7 separate regions of the Homo sapiens genome follow, and all the other regions are linked to region 7. Evidence: promoter capture Hi-C in 16 types of primary human blood cells and fetal thymus (Javierre and others, 2016). All regions are on one chromosome and are shown on one strand. The core of a region is centred on a gene start or on the middle of the fragment in contact, and the rest is flanking DNA. Distances in the headings are between cores, read along the strand shown.

Region 1 (2,700 bases), core at 30-2,529, 370 kb after region 7:
CAAATTAGGGCCACTCCAACGGCTTCATTTCAACTCAGTTGCTTTTGTAGTGACCCTGTCTCCAAGTCCGGCCACATCCTGGGGCATGAGAGTTAGGATTTCAGCGCATGAGTCTTGGCCAACCCACCTCAGCCCATGACACCAAGCCCCTGACGCGGTGCCCACCCTCACACATTCCTCCCAGAGCCCCTGTTTCACGAGTGCTCACATTGCAGGCACCCGACTGGAGGAGACGCTCTCACCCATGCGCTGCCAGTCTCTCCTTCCTGAGCCTTACCCGGAACAGATCCTGACCTCTGTTTTTTGTTGTCGTTGTTGTTGTTGTCGTTGCTGTTGTTTTGAGACGGAGTCTTGCTCTTGTTGCCCTAGCTGGAGTGCAATGGCGTGACATCGGCTCACCTCAACCTCTGCCTCCCAGGTTCAAGCCATTCTCCTGCCTCAGCCTCCCAAGTAGCTGGGATTACAGGCATGCACCTCATGCCCGGCTAATTTTGTGTTTTTAGTAGTGGTGGGGTTTCTCCATGTTAGTCAGGCTGGTCTCGAACTCATGACCTCAGGTGATCCACCCACCTCGGCCTGCCAAAGTGCTGGGATTACAGGCGTGAGCGACCGCCCCAGCCTCTGTTTCTTCCTTATGGGCCTGGCATGGAGCAGCTGGGGGCCTTTCTGATTGATGCCTTCAGGTCCACCCCGAGACCCTCAGTAGGTCCAGCACACTAAAGTCTGGTGGATCTGTGCACTGAGCACAAACCTTATTGATTTATTCGTTTATTTCTTTTTGAGACAGGGTCTCACTCTGTCACCCAGGCTGGAGTGCAGTGGCGCAATGAGAGCTCATGGTAACCTTCAACCCCTGGGCTCAAGCAATCCTCTCACCTCAGCCTCCCACATAGCTGGGACTACAGGCATGCACCACCACACCTGGCTAATTTTGGTATTTTTTGTAGAGATGGGGGACCCACTATGCTTCCAAAGTTGGTCTTGGACTCCTGGCCTCAAGTGATGCTCCCGCCTCGGCCTCCCAAAGTGTTGGGATTATGGGCGTGAGCCACCGTGACTGGCCCTACAACCCTTATTTGTAAATCTTTCAATGAGGTGTTAAGAAGGCTCGGAAACACACAGTGTCTGTGGGGTCCTCCAGGAATCAGACGCTGAGATGGAATCGGACTTGCAGGAGATTGGTTGGGACGTACCCGTTGTGGGTAAAGGTGAGGTGAAGCCAGAGGCTAGAGGGCTTCAGGCCACGGTGCAGGCCAGACACCTGTAGATGGAGAAAAGGAAGCAGAGAGATGGCAGGAAAAGCCGAGGACGGACGGAGGCCCCACAGCCCAGCTGATGGGGAGCTCCGGAGGAGAGACTGCCCGTTAGGGGACCCCAGGCTGGGGGCAGAGGCCGGCCATCCACGTCCGTGACATGCGGCCCTGGTCAGGATGTGGGTGGCAGAGTGGGCCCAGGAATGGAAGACGCATCAGATCTCAAGGGTGGGGCGGCTGAACTCTGTCCTGTCAGAAGCTGCTCTCACGGGGGGCTCTCAGCGGTCACCCCCACGGCAGCCACACCACCTCGGCAGACAGGAATCACCAGGGGTGGGACCAGCAGAATTCCCCCAGCTGGGCCCCACGGGGCTGGGGACTCTAATGTGTGGAGTCATGTGTGTGAATTGTGAGTGGGAAAGTGAGACCGTGCAGGGAAAAACCCACTGTCCTTGTCCCCACCTGAGAAAAGGGAGCAGAGAGGCAGGTTGTCCCCACCTGAGAAAAGGGAGCAGAGAGGCAGGTTGTCCCCACCTGAGAAAAGGGAGCAGAGAGGCAGGTTGTCCCCACCTGAGAAAAGGGAGCAGAGAGGCAGGCAGCAGGGAAGCCAGTTAGGGTTAATGAGCTGGGCCCCTCTAGCAGATGGTTTGGGCAAGCGCTTCAGGACAGTCCCACTGACTGGCCAGGATCAGGGAGGTTTTTCTCACCTGTGCCTGCCTCTCCTTGGTTGAGGGCTGCCTGTGCTTGATGAGCAAAAAGTCCAAGCACAGACAGAGTTGTGTGTGGTCCTTGGACGGACCAGGGTGCAGTGGTGCAGCCCACGGTGGGTGTGTAGCTGCCCAAATCCATCCACACCCACCTCAGTTGGCTCTGCCATGTTGCTGACCCTTCAAGGAGGTGGCCTCTGGTAATCACCAAACCCAGTAAAAGACAGCAGGAGAGTGAGGGGGGCAGGGGACAGTGGCTGCTGCAGCCGTTGGTCCGAGGGTAGCATGCAATAAATAGCATTCACCCACCTCCCTCCTCTCCTCCTGACATTCCAGGGTGCATCCAGCCGACGGCTTCTGTGCCACCAAGACAAAGGGAGGCTGGCAGGTGACTGGTGTGGGCCCCTTGTCGCATCTCCATCTCCATAAAGTGGTCCTAGGCCATGTGGGTAAATCACACAGTGTGGGCCCTCAGAAAATGATGTGCACCAGATTTGAGCCAGAGAAGAAACGCAGTCCTCAACAGGCGTCAACCTGGGAGGACGCAGCCCTTCTCTCTCCTCTTCCCAGACCACATAGCTGAGCCTTCACCAGGCTCTGGGAGTCCAAACATGTCTTTGCCTCCAGCCACAGAGCTGATGACTGAGTGTCCAGGGGGAAGCATAGCCACTGTGCAAGATGCTTCTCTGGATGCCGTCTTTCTGGGGTTCCCTGACATATTGAATGGAACTGAGGTTGAT
Region 2 (2,700 bases), core at 6-2,505, 350 kb before region 7:
CAATGTTAGAGGGCAAGAAGCATCCAGCATGGGAGAAATATGTAGGCTGGGAGGCTAGGCCAGTCTCACCTTTTCATGTTTTTCTGCCTGCTTTATATTCACTGGAAGCTGATTAGATGGTGCCCACCATATTAAGGGTGGGCCTGCCTTCCCCAGCCCACTGACTCAAATGTTAATCTTTGGTAACACCCTCACAGACACACCCAGGATTAATACTTTGCATCCTTCAATCCAATCAAGTTGACACTCACTATTAACCATCACACTATATATTCAATTTCATTCCCCTTCACCTTCCATGTATATCTGAGTATCACTGCAGGGATAAATACTAGCAAGTATGAATGGGAACCAGTTGAAGCATTACTTTTAACAAAAATAGCTAAAAGACATTTACTGTATATCCTGGTCAATAGGCCTCTCAAGGTAAGCAACAAACATATGATAGTTTGACCTCCAGAAAGAAAAGTGAGGGGACATTTACATGAATAGATTGTGTCTTATACACATCACTTAGCTCTTCCCTGTGTAGATTTGATTTTCCAAAAGTCCTTCACCAGGAGTCAGACCTGTGTCATTAACGGCCTTAGACAAACAAGCTTCTGTATTGTCAACTGTAATAAAGAAAATGTTTTCTAAAATCTCAACAAGACAATAAATGTGAAGAGCCAAAACAAGGTCTAGAACCAAATAGGTACCGAATAAATGGAAGTTCTTGGTACTGTGGCTACTATTTAAAGGTTATTTTTATTATACACTCATACTCTCAAACAACAAAGAGTGGCTAACCATCGCATATTGTACACAAGCTATAAAATCTCTATCTCTGGAGAGTAAGATAAATATCTGTCTGAAGTGGTTCAAGTAAACCCTCCCAGCAGGGCAACAGAGGCAACACCTCATGTCTAATGTGGGTCTCAGCTCTCTCATTCTAGAATCTTCCTACTCTGCTTCTGTGGCATCTAAAAGCCTCCTCTTCATTCACTTCTTGGGTAAGTGTACTCATGAGACAGGTTGAGAACATCCGAATATATTGTTCAAAAGAAAATCATGCCAATAGTTACAGATAAAATTTGGAAACATATATACCAGTCCACTTAACTATAAGAATAATACAATCCTATTTAGCCTCTGTACAGACAGAACAAATAAAATATTTTAATAACCTCGGCTGTTTAATAAAAATTAGTCAGCTAAACCTGAAGCTAAAACAGCTAAAATTACAATTTTGAGCCAATTCTCTCTTGCTCTTTGTACTTGCCGTACATTAAGTATGTAAGATTACATTTAAAAATAACTTTGTGAAAATGCAGTGCATTAATGGCCATATTTTGAACCAGTCATGTAAATATGAGCATAATAATTAATAATAATTAATTTTAACTGCAGAATAGCAGATTAATCACTTGTGCAAACTTAAACTTGCACATAATTTGTCACTGTTGATGTCATGAAAGCTCTAGAGTAACTTTAATCCATGCACCTGCATTTAAATTATTTAATGATATTTTACATCGTATTAATCAAACATGATTAATCATCGTATAGGAGAGAATAGAATTTTGGCTCGTATAGTACTTTTCATAGTTGGGATTGCACAAAGTGTTTAGCAAATTAATGACTTAGGTGTGCAGTGACTGGTAAATCCTATAAGGTCATGGCCCCATTATCACTCACAGGCAACCATTGGTTGTAGAGCTCATTTTACTATTGCAATAAGGTCTTTTAATGTCAACATTTATAACAACCATGGAAGGAATAGCAGGAATTCTTACAATACCTCATTAAGTAACAAAGCTATGACAATGCAAAAAAAAATCAGACTGGAATTTAATCAGCACTGAAATTCCCACTCTATGGCTCCAGAGGCATAGAGAATGTTGGAAACTCTTGATCAAGGGTGAAGCTTCTCCTCTTTCTTGTTCATGATAACATCCAACTCAACTGATTGCTCACAGTATTGTCATTTCTTTATTTAAAAAATAATTGCAGAATTTTAATTACCACTGAACACATAATTTGAGGGAATTTTATTGGTGTAGCTTACACACTGAAAAGTGCACACATCATAAGAATATGCACAATTGAAGTGCAAAAAATGATAATTTTCACAAAGCAATCACCTCTGTGTCACCACTGCCATGACCAGGAAATAAAACATTGCTAGCAGCTCAGATACTCCCATGCCCTAGAAGTCACTACCCTCACCAAAAGCATCCACTATTCCGTCTTTCACACTTGAGATGAGTTTTGCATTTGAAAATCGCAATGAAACAATCTTGTTTTTTGAATGCACCACAGTGTCCTCGTTCTGCTCTTCATATGCATTGGTTGTTTTGCCTTCGGAGTTGTTATGAAGAGTGTCACCATAAACATTCTTGTACACATCTTTTTATGAACACTTGTCCTCATTTTGGTTGGATAGATTCCTAGGAGTGGAAATGTGGGTGATACCGAATGTGTATGTCCCATTTTAGGAGAAACCACCACACATGGGCTACACATGCCAAGGTTTCCACCAACAAGGGTTGAGCATTCAGGCGGCCCCTGTCATTGCCACGGCCTGCCATTGCTCACCAATGTTGACTCAGCAGTTCTGGTTGGGGAGCAATGAGGTCTCATTTGATTTTAAGCTGCATTTCCCCATGACTAGTGATGTGGGACATTTTTTATATGCTTATTGGTGACTCATGTAGCCTT
Region 3 (2,700 bases), core at 158-2,657, 370 kb before region 7:
AATACAAAAAATTAGCTGGGTGTGGCGGTATGCACCTGTAGTCCCAGCTACTGGAGAAGCTGAGGCAGGAGAATTGCTTGAACCCGGTAGGCGGAGGTTGTAGTGAGCTGAGATCGTGCCACTGCACTCCAGTCTGGGCAACAGAGCAGACCCTGTCTCAAAAAAAATTCCTAACTTTGGATTTATTTTTTGAAAAATAACAACATGGTCTGACATGTAAAGACTTTGAAAGATCTCACTTCCATCTTCAGACCAAGAAAAAACTGATCAAACTGAAAATCAACAACTCTTCTTATATCCATCAGAGACTCGCAGTCACAGGGCAGACTGCTGCCCCCAAAACGGGAAAGAGGGGTAGATACTCAGAGAGAATAACAGTTTACTTGTGACAGAAACCCAGGAGCAGAAGCTGACACATTGGAGGCAGGACTGTCTGGGTTTGTGGTTTAGAGTCAATCATTTTTTGTTTGCTTGTTTGTTTTTAAAGACAGGGTTTCGCTCTGTTGTGCAGGCTGGAGCACAGTCGTGCCAACACAGTTCACCCTAACCTCAATCTTAAGGGATGTTCCCCGACCTCAGCTTCCATAGTAATTAAAATTAAAGGCCAGGAGTGCACTCTGGCACCTGTCTAATTTTTTGTTTTATTTCTTTTATTTTATTTATTTATTTATTTATTTTGAGATGGAGTCTCACTCTGTCACCCAGGCTGGAGTGCAGTGGCACGATGTCAGCTCACTGTTACCTCTGCCTCCCGGGTTCAAGTGATTCTCCTGCCTCAGCCTCCCAAGTAGCTGGGACTACAGGCACGCACCATCATGCCCAGCTAATTTTTGTATTTTTAGTAGAGACGGGGTTTCACCATGTTGGCCAGGATGGTCTCGATCTCATGACCTCATGATCCACCCACCTCGGCCTCCCAAAGTGCTGGGATTACAGGCGTGAGCCATCGCGCCTGGCCTTTTTGTTTTATTTCTTATTGAGATGAGGTCTTGCTATGTTGCCCAGGCTGGTCTTGAACTCTTGGCCTGAAACATCCCACCTCGACCTCCCAAAGCGCTGGGACTACAGGCATGAACCACTGTGCCCTGCCAGTGTCAGTCATTAATTTTGAAAAATTCTCAGTCATTATCATTTCAAATAAACAAATAAGATTTGTCTCAGGTATGAAAGGTTGGCTCAACATTCAAAAAGCAATTAACATAATCTACCACTTCCACAGTCTAAAGAAGAAAAATCATACAATCATATGTGAAAGAATTTGATAAAATCCAATACCCATTCATGATAAAACACCTCAGCAAACTAGCTATAAAGAAGAACTTTCTCAACCTGACATAGAACATCTATTAAAACCTACAGCTCTCCTCTTAATAAATAATGAAAAATTGAATGCTTTCGTGCTAAGATCAGAAATAAGGCAAGGATATCTACTCTCGAAATTTCTATTTAACATCAAAATGAAAGTTCTAGCTAATAAAATTAGCAAAAAATAAAAATTATACAGATTGGAAAGGAACAAATAAGACTCTCTTTGTTCATAGATGACATGATTATCTCTGTTAAAAAAAAACTCAATGACAGAAAGCTGGAATGAATAAGTGATTGTACCGAGGTTGTAAGGTACAAAGGAAGTATACAAAAGTCAATTGCTTGCCATATACCAGTAATGAACAATTAAAATTTAAAATTAGAAACACATCACTTATATTAGCACCCAAAAATGATACTTAAGTGTAAATCTGATGAAAATATGTACAAGAGCTAAAAGTAGGAAACTCAGATAAAACACATCAAAGAAGATGTAAATAAGTGGAGAAATATTCCACATGTGTGGGTAAGAAGACTCAGTGTTGTTAAGATGTCAGCTGTTCTCAACTTGATCTATAGATTCAATATGTTCCCAGTCAAAATGCCAGCAAGTTAATTTTTAGACATCAACAAATGGATTCTATTATATGGAGAGACAAAACACCCAGCTTGCCAAAAGAGTGTTGAAGAAGAACAAAGTCAGAAGACTTGCTCTGTTTGACTTCAAGACTTATTATAAAGCTACAGTAATGAAGACTGTGGTACTGGCAAAATAATAGATGAACAGATCAATGGAACAGAACAGAGAGCCCAAACATAGAATCACACAGTGCAATATACATATATTTAAGGTACACAATATAAAAGCTGTTATTCAAGGATTTGCTTCCATTTTATGCGTGCGCATAATATATAGAAAGTTATCTGGGGAGATGTACTAATAAGTAGTCAAGGTAAATGTTTTTGGATGGAAAGATGGCAAATGGATTTTTAAAATTATTATTATGTTTATCAGTGTTTCTACATCTATGTCTTTTGTAATTAAAATATTAGGTTTAAAAATGTTATTAAATTAACACAAAAATAAATTACACTGATGTTTTGTAGGAGCATTGTATGTAAAATAAAATAAAGTGAAACATGCAAGAACTTAGTGGAATATGCTTCCTTTTCCTTACTTTGTATTTGGGTGCTGAACATGCAGGTTTAGTCCATCAGAGGCCTCGACGGTGCCTTTATTCATCTTCCAACCTGCTGGTAATAGCGTGGCTTCTCATCTTTAGAACATGATCCTGTTCCTGCCAAGGGTGAACTCACGTAAGGTTTATCTGTACTATTTCATTTCAGTCCCTCCCACATCAAAGTATGCTGTGACCTACATAAGGACTTTAA
Region 4 (2,700 bases), core at 2-2,501, 340 kb after region 7:
GAAGGTAAAAAGCTGAAAGCTTTTTCTCTAAGATCAGGAGCAAGACAGGGATTCCCACGTTCTCCACTTCTATTCAACATAGTGCTGGAGTCCTAGACAGAGCAATTAGGTGAGAAAAAAAAGTAAAAGGCATTCACATTAGAGAGGAAGAAGTAAAATTGTCTTTGTGTGCAGATAGCATGATCTTATATACAGAAAACCCAGAAGACTCCACCAAAAATCTGTTAGAACTGTTGAATGAAGTTAGCAAAGTTGCAAGATAGAAAATCAACATACAAAAACCAGTAGCATTCTCTACATTAAAAATGAACCACCCAAAATAGAAATTAAGAAAACAATCCTGTTGTAATAGCATCATAAAGAATAAAATACTTAGGTATAAACTTAACTGAGGTGGTAAAAGCTCTATATACTGAAAGCTAAACAACTATGATGAGAAAAATTAGATAAAAATAAATGGAAAAGTATTTCATGTTCATGGATTAGAAAAATTAATATTGTTTAATGTCCACACCACTCAAAAGGATCTACAGATTCAACACAATTCCTATCAAAATTTCAGAGGCTTTTTTTTCAAAGAAATAGAAAAAGGAATCCTAAAATTCATAAGCAATCACAAAGAATTCTAATAGCCAAAGCAATGTTGAGCAAAAAGAACAAAGATAGAGGCACTCTACCTCTTGATTTCAAATTTCATTACGTGCTATGATAATGAAGACAGGATGGTACTGGCATAAAAAAAACAGACCCACAAACCAATGAAATAGAATAGAGAGCCCAGAAATAAATGTATACATATATACAGTCAATTAATTTTTGATAGGGTGCCAAGAATACACAATGAGGAAATGATAGACTCTTCAATAAATGGTGCAGGGAGAACTGAATATCCACATATGGAAGAGTGAAATTGGATCCTTGTACCATATAGAAAAATCAACTCTAAATGGACTTAAGATTTAATCATAAGACCTGAAAGTGTAAGACTCCCAGAAGAAAACATCGGGGAAAAGTTTGTTGTCATTGATTGGTCTTGGCAGTGTTTTTCTGGATATGACACCAAAAGCACAGACAACAAATGTCAAAATAAACAAGCAAAATATACCTAACTATAAAGCTCTGCACAGTAGAAGAAACAATCTACAAAATAGAAAGGCAACCTAGAGAATGAAAAAAAAGTGTGCAAGTCATATATCTGATAAGGGATTAGCATCCAAAATATACAAATAATTTATACAAATAGCAAAAAAAAAAAATCAAATAACCTGATTATAAAAGGGATAAAAGACCTGAATAGGCATTTCTCCAAGGAAGACACACAAAAGATAAACAGGTTCATGAAAAAGTGCTCAACATCACTAATTATCAGTAAATCAAAAGCACAACGAGATATCACCTCACACCTGTGAGAATGGCTATTATTCAGAAAAAAAAAAAGATAAGAAGTGTTAGTTACTGAAGATGTAGAGAAAAAGAAACCTGTGTACATTGCTAGTGGAAATACTGGTACAGCCATTGTAGAAAACAGTCGGAGGTTTCTCAAAAAAAAGTAAGCATAGAAACATCAAATTGTCCAGCAATTGCACTTTGGGGTATATATCCAAAGGAAATAAAATTAGTATCTCTAAGAGATCTCTGAACCCTGTGTTTGTTGCAAAGTTATTCACTACAGCCACGACGTGGAAACAGCCTCAATGCTCATTGGTGGATGAATGGATAAAGAAAATGGGGCATATTTGTACAAGGGAATATTATTCAGCCTTTAAAAAGAAGGAAATGTTGTCATTTGCAACAACATGGATGAACCTGGAGGACATTATGCTAAGTGAAATAATCCAAGCACAGAAAAATACCACATGACTTCATTTATATATGGAACCTAAAATAGTTAAATTCATAGAAGCAGAAAGGAGAGTGGTGATTACCAGGGGCTGGGAGAAGGGAGGAACAGGGCATTGATGGTCAAAGGGAACAAAGTTTCAGTTATGCCAGGTGGATGCGGTATGAGCTCTACTCTACAGCATAGCACCCATAGCTAACAAGACTGTATTGTGTACTTAAAATTGCTAAGACAGTGGATCTTATGTGAACGCTTCATAAAACAACAAACAACAACAACTTAACAATAATAATAACGGGGTGGAAGAAAACCCTTGGAGGTGAGGGATGTGTTTACCACCCTGATGATGGTGCTGGTTTCACTGGTGGATACTTATCCTCAAACTCATCGAGTGCAGACACTAAACTTGGACAGGTTTAATTTTATGATTGCATGCCAATCGTACCCCAATCAAGCCATTTTTAAAAAGAAATAAATTAGGAAAGTAAAAAAAATAAAAATTAAAAATTACAAAAGCCCAGTGGGTTGGCTCTACCACTTCCTAGGAAACCAACTTATAGAGCCTTTCTCTAAGTTTCAGTTTCTTCACCAGTAAAATGAAGATTATAGACATATCTTTATTTCAATATTGTTTGAAAGCTTTCATGGGATAATACACAATTCTTAGCCCTGCTGATTGGTACACAATAATTTGTAACTGTTGCTTCTATTCGTATGAAGAAGAAGAATAAATGAAATAATTATTGTTGTCTTAGAATGCATATTTTCCAGAAGAATAATTTTTTAACAGTACAGTCCCACAGCAGTGAAAAGGAAATATATGTCTCAAGGTGGACTTTTAGTAAAGGTGCAGAAGCAAG
Region 5 (2,700 bases), core at 43-2,542, 350 kb after region 7:
GCCAAAAGGCCACGGGTGTTGAGCTGTTGACGAGAAACTGAAAGTGCCATTGTGTTTATACAGGAAGCTGCCATTAGTAGGGATTTGAAAAAGCAAGAGGAGAGGATGAGTTTAGTGGGGAGTTCTTACACTTCAGGTGCTAGTGGATACCACCAAGTCAATATTGAGTAGCAGGAAACCAGGGCCTGATGTTCCGTCAGGCCATCAGGGCGGAGACATTGTGGAGAGGAAGTTTTGAGGCTGTGAGATTAGGAGAGAAGCATGGAGTGTAGAGCAGGAACTAGGCCTCTCTTTACCCAAAATCCAAAACCCCACTTATGCCAGACACACTCAATACTTTCTGCTGGGATCCTCAATTCTCATAAAGTTTTCATAATAAGGCCGGGCGGGGTGGCTTATGCCTGTATTCCCAGCACTTTGGGAGGCCGAGGCGGGCGGATCACCTGAGGTCAGGAGTTCAAGACGAGTCTGGCCAACATGGTAAAAACCTGTCTCTACTGAAAATACAAAAATCAGCCGGGCTTGGTGGTAGGCGCCTACAGCTAGTCGGGACGCTGAGGCATGGGAATCGCTTGAACCCAGGAGGCAGAGGTTGCAGTGAGCCAAGATCATGCCACTGCACACCAGCCTGGGGGATACAGCAAGACTCTGTCACAATAAAAAAAACAAAAAGTTTTCATAAATTGGGATGTTTCCTCTATTCCTTCCCCTGTCTCATTCTTGAGGGATTGAAGATAGTGTTTGAAATCTCACTGGCAACCCTTCCTGCTCCCTTTCCCAGCAGTTCCATGACCTTATCCACTCTAACAAGCCCCGTTTCCTCCCTGCTTCTGCCACTCGCTGAACACAGTACCTTGGCATTGCTGTCCTACATACTCCATTCTAGCCGTGACCGCTCTTCCGGAACACAATCTCCTACTAGCTGCTAGGTCTGAGTGACTAACATAAAATTCTCCCTGGTCTGTCAGTATTTGAAATACAGCCGCTTGTCTTGAAATGTTTATTGTCACTTGTTCTTGGTATAAGATGAGCATTTAAAATACACACACACACACACACACACACGCACGCACATATACAGGTATATCTGAGGGTTTACTATGTGCCAAGAACCATGCTGGAATCCTTTCATAAATATGGCCTCCATCATTCCTGAGAACAATCCTATTAAAATGTGATGTGAATGCATTTTCTCATTCATTAAAAGTGTGTGTGTGTGTGTGTGTGTGAGAGAGAGAGAGAGAGAGAGAGAGAGAGAATATGACATCCATCTGGTAACAGAGACCTGATCTCAGTTTCCCCATCTGGGTACTGCTTATAGAAATTGATTTTGGACTTCAAGGTAGAATATGATGCAAGCTAACCCTAGGGGAACCCTGACAAATTAAAGGGGAAAATGCCTGTAGGGAGATGCCATGCTGAGTCCCCACAGAGCCCAGTTCAGCTGGGGATGTTGCTCTGAGAACATGCAGATGAATGTCTTATTTGTTTTGGGCTTCTTAGACTTCAATCCATTCCAGGAACCCTTTTAGGGTTTACTATGCAGCCAAGTGTAAAATGCATCTGATTTTTAGGAAATTTGCTAAAAGAAGCTATACAACTCATGCCAAAAACCTCTCCACAGCAGCTAAAAGTTCCATTAAAGTATGTCATTAAACACATGTTCCAAAAAGGTTTTGTATCTCATTTTGTTCTCTGGGGTCTACATTTTGAAGTAAAACATCTTCACTAACTTGGGCATTTGATGTTAAAATACTAAAAATAATGGACAAAATTATGACAAGGAGAAGGCAAGGCTGGGACGGGCCACAGTGAATAAAAATTCAATCTGTTTTCCCAAACCCACTGCCATGCTAACTGGTATGTGTCTGCTTCTCTCAGTGATTCTGCGAGCTATGGTCCCAGTGTCCCTAGTGGCAGTGGCATGAAACCATCTCAGGGCCAACCTCCAAGGAAACAGCATTCAAGTGCCTTTACTCACACGGGAGCTGTGAGCCGGGGATTTTCTGCTGCAAGTGACAGACCACCCAATGCAAGCTAAAATTAAAAAGAGGGACTTAGGGGCTTTCATAAACCACTCCAGAGCTAGGCCTAGGTTCAGAAGAGCCATCCAAGGGCAAGTGTATCAGCATCTGTGGTGGCAGCTGCCCTCCAGCGTCCTTCTGGCCTGTCCAGGTGCCCCATTCTGTAGGATCTCCTGTGCTCTCCCCACTGCCCATCTCCACAGATGAGAGGGAGGTCTCTCTCTCCAGAGAATCCAAAACTGCCTTCATGACTCTCTGGGCACTAAGTAGGACACGTTCTTATCTGCAGATCAATCCCTGTGGCCGCCGTGTGGCTTTGTTAACTGACTGACTGGTGACTCCAGTTCAGCCCTGGAGCTGGACTGGGTCAGGGCCCCCAAATTCCACAGGCAAAACATGGGATGTCTCTGCTCCCTGCAGGTCAAATGTCAGTGCCATTCCCAGGAGCACAGGGAATGGAGGTGGGCAGCGCAATCCACACGTGGACGTTTCCAGGGAATACATCCCCTTGGTGGGGGCCAAATGGGTGGGGTTAGGGTAGGCCCTGGGAATGCCACAGTGAGATATCCACAGTCACTGTCTACTGCAGGCTCATTCTCCACTGAGGAGGCCGATGGATGAAGACCTGAATGAGACAAGGAGATGAGCCCTCATGAGAACTCACTGTACAGCTGTA
Region 6 (2,700 bases), core at 9-2,508, 320 kb before region 7:
ACATAGTTGTACATTACCCTCCCCTGGCCTGTGATGTAGGTAAGTGAAATTGTCATCACATAGAAGCTACAAACTGAAACATGTTCACAAAAGAATCAATGTGGATGACATGTCAGCCACTCTACCAAATCACATCCATAATCACATATTGCCAAAGACTAACAATGTTTTCCTCCCAAGTGAAAAAAAAATAACGTTTCCAGGTATCAGTGCTATCTTCTTTAGTTTATGAAAATAAATGAACATATTATTGCTGATTTTCTCACAAGTAAAGTCTTGAAATACCCAATATCTGAAAATGAACCAGAAGAAAAAGACTTAAAAGGAAGATTTTAAAACAAGCCGAGTATCGTTCTTTAAAATGAAATGAAAAAAAATGTTAATTTTTTTCGTGATGAGTCATCTTTTTTTGGATCGAATACACAATTCAAGTGTTACTAAATTCTTCAGCATCCTTGTCAATCTGTCTGCATTCAACACTCATCTTCAGGGGCTAACTCCGGTTTCACTTTTGCACGAACTCTTTGCTGTGGCAACCAATCCATAATGACTTCCCTTTTCTTGGAGATCCAAATGATCTTCATAACACTAAGTAATGTTTCAGATGTCCTTTCTACACATTACTGTTGTATCTACTGCAGCAGGAAGGGTGCCTACCACATGCATATTAACTGATAACATGTCTCAGCAGTTTTCATAGATGTTGCTTATTCTTGGATAGTGTGTCTCCAATTCACATTTGGGAAATTGTAGGGTTGTATTGACTCATTGGTTTACCCTAAGATAGAAGGGTGAAGATAGCTAAAATAGGGATTTAGTTGCACCTATATATACATATTTTAAAAATTGGACTGTCTAGTCTGGAAAATCCTTTTTTAATGTAGTCTAACACTGTTTCTTTTATTACATTCTCTTTCTAGACTCTATTGCTGAGTCTAAGAAAAAAGAAGGTATCTCCAAAAATGTACCAATACTTTACAGGTTGAGAATGAGTCTGATTTATTTTACTTTTTTATTTTATTTTATTTTATTGAGATGGAGTCTCGCTCTGTCACCCATGCTGGAGTGCAGTGGTGCGATCTCGGTTCACTGCAACCTCCACCTCCCAGGTTCATGTGATTCTCCTCCCTCAGCCTCCTGAGTACCTGGGATTACAGGTGCCTGCCACCACGCCCAGCTAATTTTTGTATTTTTGGTAGAGACGGGGTTTCACCATGTTGGTCAGGCTGGTCTCGAACTCCTGACTTCGTGATCTGTCCGCCTTGCCTCCAAAAGTGCTGTGATTACAGGCATCAGCCACTGCGCCTGGCCATAAGTCTGATCTTTTTACAACACCCTGCAGTTCTTCACTTCTTTGACTGCTGCCCCAATCTCAGCATCATGTGGAAATATGTATACTGGACCGAATGGAACAAGGGCTATCCTTATGGAGTGGACAGAATGGGCTGGCGTCACCCTGCTTCAGGTGTCGTGTTCACATCCTCTTCATGTTTATAGTCTTCAGCTTCACTTGCCTTCTTAGAGGCGATGTTTTGAAGAACACTAACTTAGGTCTTGTGCCCCTAACTATAAAAGTAAGCGACTTCGTAATACTTGCAGTCAGGTAATTGATTCCAAGAGGAATGCAGGGGTTAGAATTGCAATTTCCTGCAAAGGAAACACCCATGTTTGGTAGTTTTCTTAGTTGTCTCTCAGTTATTAACAGCCCTACTTATATTTGACAGACAAGTAATAATGTGGCCATCTATCTCTAAGACAGCAGAGCTGAATATAGTTCCAACTTTATAAATGAATTTTAAAAGCCCTACAGACAAATTTCATTAAAGTAAAGAATAAAAATTTGGTAAATGGAGTCTTTGGATTTTACTAACGAATAAATCTTTACTTTTCTACAACTGCTAATAAGGAACTCGAAGGTTGAATAAATAAAATGAACATTTCCTGTGTACTAATGCAGGCCTCTTTTAGCAAGGGTGTGTAGAATGCTTTTAAGATGACTGCATTTATACACCCTTACAATTAGACAAAAGCACGTCCCAGTATTCTGTTTAATAGTGGGTCAGCCATGGAAGAGCTCAGACATGTCACAAACAAAACCCAAAGAAGAGCCTCTATGTTCTATGTAGGCCCTTCTTACTACATAGAGATGTCCAAGTTCAGCATGATAATATATTTCACAACCATCGTGAAAAAATCAAGTTAAATATTGTACATATGGTCTTTTAGTAACAATAATGTAATTAACACGTTAATAAAAACAGGTCTTTCTTCATATGATGCAGAAATTATCCTTTCTTAGAAGAAATTATTTTTCTCTTAAGAAACAATTTTCACATATTTTTACTTTAAGTCAGAGGTCCCCAGCCCCTGGCCCGTGGACCAGTACTAGTCTGTGGCCTGTTAGAAACTGGGTGGCACAGCAGGGAGAAGAGAGCATTACCACCTGAACTCTGCCTCCTGTCAAATCAGCAACAGCATTAGATTCTCATAGGAGCACAAACCCTACTGTAAATTGCACTTGCAAGGGATCTAGGTTGCACATGCCTTATGAGAATCTAATGCCTGATGATCTGAGGTGGAACAGTTCCATCCCAAACCATCCCCCGAGTCCATGAAAAAAATTGTCTTCCATGAAACTGGTCCCTACTGCCAAAAAGGTCATGGGGCCACTGCTGTAAGTGAAGAGCTTCTGGGAGATTC
Region 7 (2,700 bases), core at 166-2,665:
GGGTAAATGTGATGAACACGAGCCAAGAACACTGTCAATTCACTCTGCATAACCTTCACCGCCCACATACCGCAGGTACAAGACAAACCTCCTTTCTCCACTCCAGACTCACTAAGGTCCCCACCTAGTCTTACAGCCACATGCTTCTGCCGGACCCTCTAAAACTTAACATACAAAACCCTCTAATTTTTTTTTACATAGTCCATTCTTTCAAAATGTTTAATGTTCATTAAACTATTTTGAAACAAAAACTATAATACAGTTACAATTCAGTTTTCCATTTTGGATTTTAAAATGCTCTGGTTCGAGTCTCGACATTTTTCTTAAAAATGAACATTACGGTATATTTTAGGAGATAATTTATATGGAAAAAAACACACACACTAAATGTCGGCTTGCACCTAAATTGTTTACACGTTCATGGGAAAACCTAGCTGTTAACCTTGGTGAGGGCTAAGATCGCCCTCTACAAGATAAACACGTTTCTCCCAATTCCAAGGGGAGCCTGCGTGCTCCCCTCCCCCACTCTGGTGGCCCGGAGGACAGAGGGGACCCTAGGACTGGAGGGGGACGGAGACGGGCTCAGGGATGGAGGGGGACAGAGAGGGACCCGGAGGTGGAGGAGGACAGAGAGGGGTACCCCAAGGTTAGAGAACAGAGGATGACTAGGGGGATGTAGGGAAACAGAGCGGCGCAGAAGAGGACAGTTGGGGACGGGGCGGCCCCGGGCATAGAAGGGGACAGTTGGCGACCGGGAAGCCCCCGGCGTAGAAGGGGACAGTTGGGGACGGGGCGGCCTCGGGCATAGAAGGGGACGGGGGGGAACCGGGCGGCCCCGGGACCGGACGGCCGCCCGCAGGGTGAGCTGCCGGAACCGGGGCTCGCGCGGCGACAGGGCCCGGCTTGGTGACCGGGACGGGCGTGGGGTGGCGGGACCGGGCAGCGGGGAAGAGAGACCGGGACTGGGGACAGGCGACGCGGCCCGCCCCGGCTCTCCCAGCCCCGGCTCCCTTAGCTCCGGCCGCGGGCGCAGTGCAGGGCTCGGCCGCGCACCTCACAGCGCGGACTCCTCCGGCGCGCGGCCGCCCGCGCCTTATATACCCTGCTAAAAATAGCCTGCGAGGCCACTTTCCAATCAGAACGAGCAGAGTTCGAATTGAGCCAATGGTGCGGGCCGTGATGGAGAGTCTCGGTCACGCCAGGCGGGGCCGCTGTGTGTCGCCGCCTGCGATTGGCCGGAGCTGACATCATCGGCGCGCAGCCCCCGGGCCGGGAGCCACGGGATTGGGCCGCGCACGGGGCGGGCGCGGGGCGAGTCACGTGGGGGGAGGGGGAGTGGGGGGAGCCAGGCGGGGGCGGAGGGGGAGGCTGGCAGCGGAGCTTTGAATAGGGAAGTTTTGCAGGGGTTACGTTTGCAGTCAGTCCGGTGTTTGCAAATATTGTGTGGGCTCCGCGCGCTGCGGGCTGCGGGAGGGTCCGGCCGGGCGTCTCTGCGAGCCTGGAGTTTGCATGAAACTTTCACCTGCGCTCCGGGGAGACTTTCGGCTCCGGCTCCCACCGCGCGCCTCGCCGCCCTCGCGACCGCGGGCTCCGTCCAACCCGGCCCGACATGGACGTGCTCCCCATGTGCAGCATCTTCCAGGAGCTCCAGATCGTGCACGAGACCGGCTACTTCTCGGCGCTGCCGTCTCTGGAGGAGTACTGGCAACAGGTAAACGCAGCCGGCCGCGGTTCCCTGCGGGCGCCGGGGCGCGGGCCGGGTCGGCTGTTTGGGGTTCAGACCCGGTGCTCTCTGCGGTCCGCTGGGCCTGGGCCCCGCGCTGTCACCGGGGGAGCGGGCGCAGCGCCCCCGCCGATCGATCCTCCAGGCTGCGATCAGCGTCCGCCCAGGGAAGCCCCAACTCCCGGCACAGCCCGGCCGAGCCCCTGGCACGAGTTCGGAGCCTGTCCCCGCTCCAGACGCCACAGCTGGAGCTTGTCATGGGGACCAACTTGCTCTGCCTGCCAAGGTGTTTTTTTTTTGTTTGTTTGTTTTTTGTTGTTTTTTTTTAACGGATTTTGTTTTTGTTTTGTTTCTTGGTGCTTGTACTTAACAGTTTTTTAAAAAAATCACATTTTGCCCCCAGAACGTAGACCAGCTCTCTTTTATTTTTGTCTTTTTTAAACTGTAGACCATTTCCAATGTGTTTTCTGCTCTTTGGAATGCCTAACATTTCCCCTAGATCTGCCTTATTTGTCTTCCCTGCTTCTCTTGTTGACCAAGAAAAATAAAAATAAAACTGTGTACACCCCAGTGACTTGTCAGTCTTGTGACAATGAGCCCGTCCAAACTGCTTCAAGTCTTAGTTTGGAAAGAAGGACCTCGGTTTCCGACATTGTCGTAGAACTGGAATTTGGGGGCATTGGAAATTTAAGAAACTTACCAGGTCCCCGTGCTTATAGGTAGCATCGCCCGAGGGGAGAGAGACTGACACTCCTCCCATTGTCTCTCCAGCGATCGCAGGAGGGTTTACTGTTGTCTCCCTGCCCTGCTGTGCTGTTTGTTTTTCGTCACAAAGTGAATTGCCAGATCAAATAGAGGCTGTGGGTTTCCAAGCCTCGAAAGCTTTAAGGAAGATGAAATGCAGGGTGTTGCAACCTTCACACGCCTGCTTAATTGTTCACAGTCCTCTCCTGCCTTTTCCCCCTCCCCCTCCTGTT

What was found. The method cuts DNA at HindIII sites, captures the fragments that hold promoters and counts their contacts. A CHiCAGO score of 5 or more calls a contact.
Region 1: a contact is called between a fragment that was not itself captured here and the fragment with the promoter of KLF6 in region 7, in 1 of 17 cell types (neutrophils). The highest score is 7.6, in neutrophils.
Region 2: a fragment that was not itself captured here is called in contact with the fragment with the promoter of KLF6 in region 7 in 4 of 17 cell types (neutrophils, total CD8 T cells, total B cells and 1 more); the score reaches 9.1 in neutrophils.
Region 3: a contact is called between a fragment that was not itself captured here and the fragment with the promoter of KLF6 in region 7, in 2 of 17 cell types (neutrophils and total CD8 T cells). The highest score is 10.5, in neutrophils.
Region 4: a contact is called between a fragment that was not itself captured here and the fragment with the promoter of KLF6 in region 7, in 1 of 17 cell types (neutrophils). The highest score is 5.6, in neutrophils.
Region 5: a fragment that was not itself captured here is called in contact with the fragment with the promoter of KLF6 in region 7 in 1 of 17 cell types (neutrophils); the score reaches 11.0 in neutrophils.
Region 6: a contact is called between a fragment that was not itself captured here and the fragment with the promoter of KLF6 in region 7, in 1 of 17 cell types (neutrophils). The highest score is 6.0, in neutrophils.

Annotation. Positions count from the first base shown.
Region 1 is chr10:3,411,626-3,414,325 of GRCh38, reverse strand. The region is part of intron 1 of LOC105376360 (a long non-coding RNA gene); the gene reads right to left. Among named protein-coding and RNA genes, the nearest start is that of LINC02669, 90 kb to the left of the region's middle. The HindIII fragment of the contact is 6,581 bases long and covers 1-2,700 here.
Region 2 is chr10:4,137,413-4,140,112 of GRCh38, reverse strand. No RefSeq gene overlaps it. Among named protein-coding and RNA genes, the nearest start is that of LINC00702, 110 kb to the left of the region's middle. The HindIII fragment of the contact is 1,307 bases long and covers 602-1,908 here.
Region 3 is chr10:4,154,430-4,157,129 of GRCh38, reverse strand. It overlaps LOC105376368 (a long non-coding RNA gene), which reads right to left. Exons shown (of 4, transcript XR_930587.4): 3 at 2,487-2,606. Among named protein-coding and RNA genes, the nearest start is that of LINC00702, 88 kb to the left of the region's middle. The HindIII fragment of the contact is 3,461 bases long and covers 1-2,700 here.
Region 4 is chr10:3,447,534-3,450,233 of GRCh38, reverse strand. All of the region lies in intron 3 of LINC02669 (long intergenic non-protein coding RNA 2669), which reads left to right. The region is part of intron 1 of LOC105376360 (a long non-coding RNA gene); the gene reads right to left. It overlaps LOC124902538 (a long non-coding RNA gene), which reads right to left and starts at 600. Exons shown (of 2, transcript XR_007062362.1): 1 at 1-600. The HindIII fragment of the contact is 2,460 bases long and covers 22-2,481 here.
Region 5 is chr10:3,431,491-3,434,190 of GRCh38, reverse strand. It overlaps LINC02669 (long intergenic non-protein coding RNA 2669), which reads left to right. Exons shown (of 5, transcript NR_155743.1): 5 at 1-679. All of the region lies in intron 1 of LOC105376360 (a long non-coding RNA gene), which reads right to left. Among named protein-coding and RNA genes, the nearest start is that of LINC02669, 70 kb to the left of the region's middle. The HindIII fragment of the contact is 5,189 bases long and covers 1-2,700 here.
Region 6 is chr10:4,105,358-4,108,057 of GRCh38, reverse strand. No RefSeq gene overlaps it. Among named protein-coding and RNA genes, the nearest start is that of MIR6078, 120 kb to the right of the region's middle. The HindIII fragment of the contact is 3,080 bases long and covers 1-2,700 here.
Region 7 is chr10:3,783,924-3,786,623 of GRCh38, reverse strand. It overlaps KLF6 (KLF transcription factor 6), which reads left to right and starts at 1,415. Exons shown (of 4, transcript NM_001300.6): 1 at 1,415-1,711. The coding sequence starts at 1,610. RefSeq lists silencers at 506-565, 746-1,025, 1,276-1,875, a promoter at 677-1,614 and enhancers at 1,481-2,036, 2,037-2,593, 2,594-2,700. The HindIII fragment of the contact is 8,520 bases long and covers 1-2,607 here.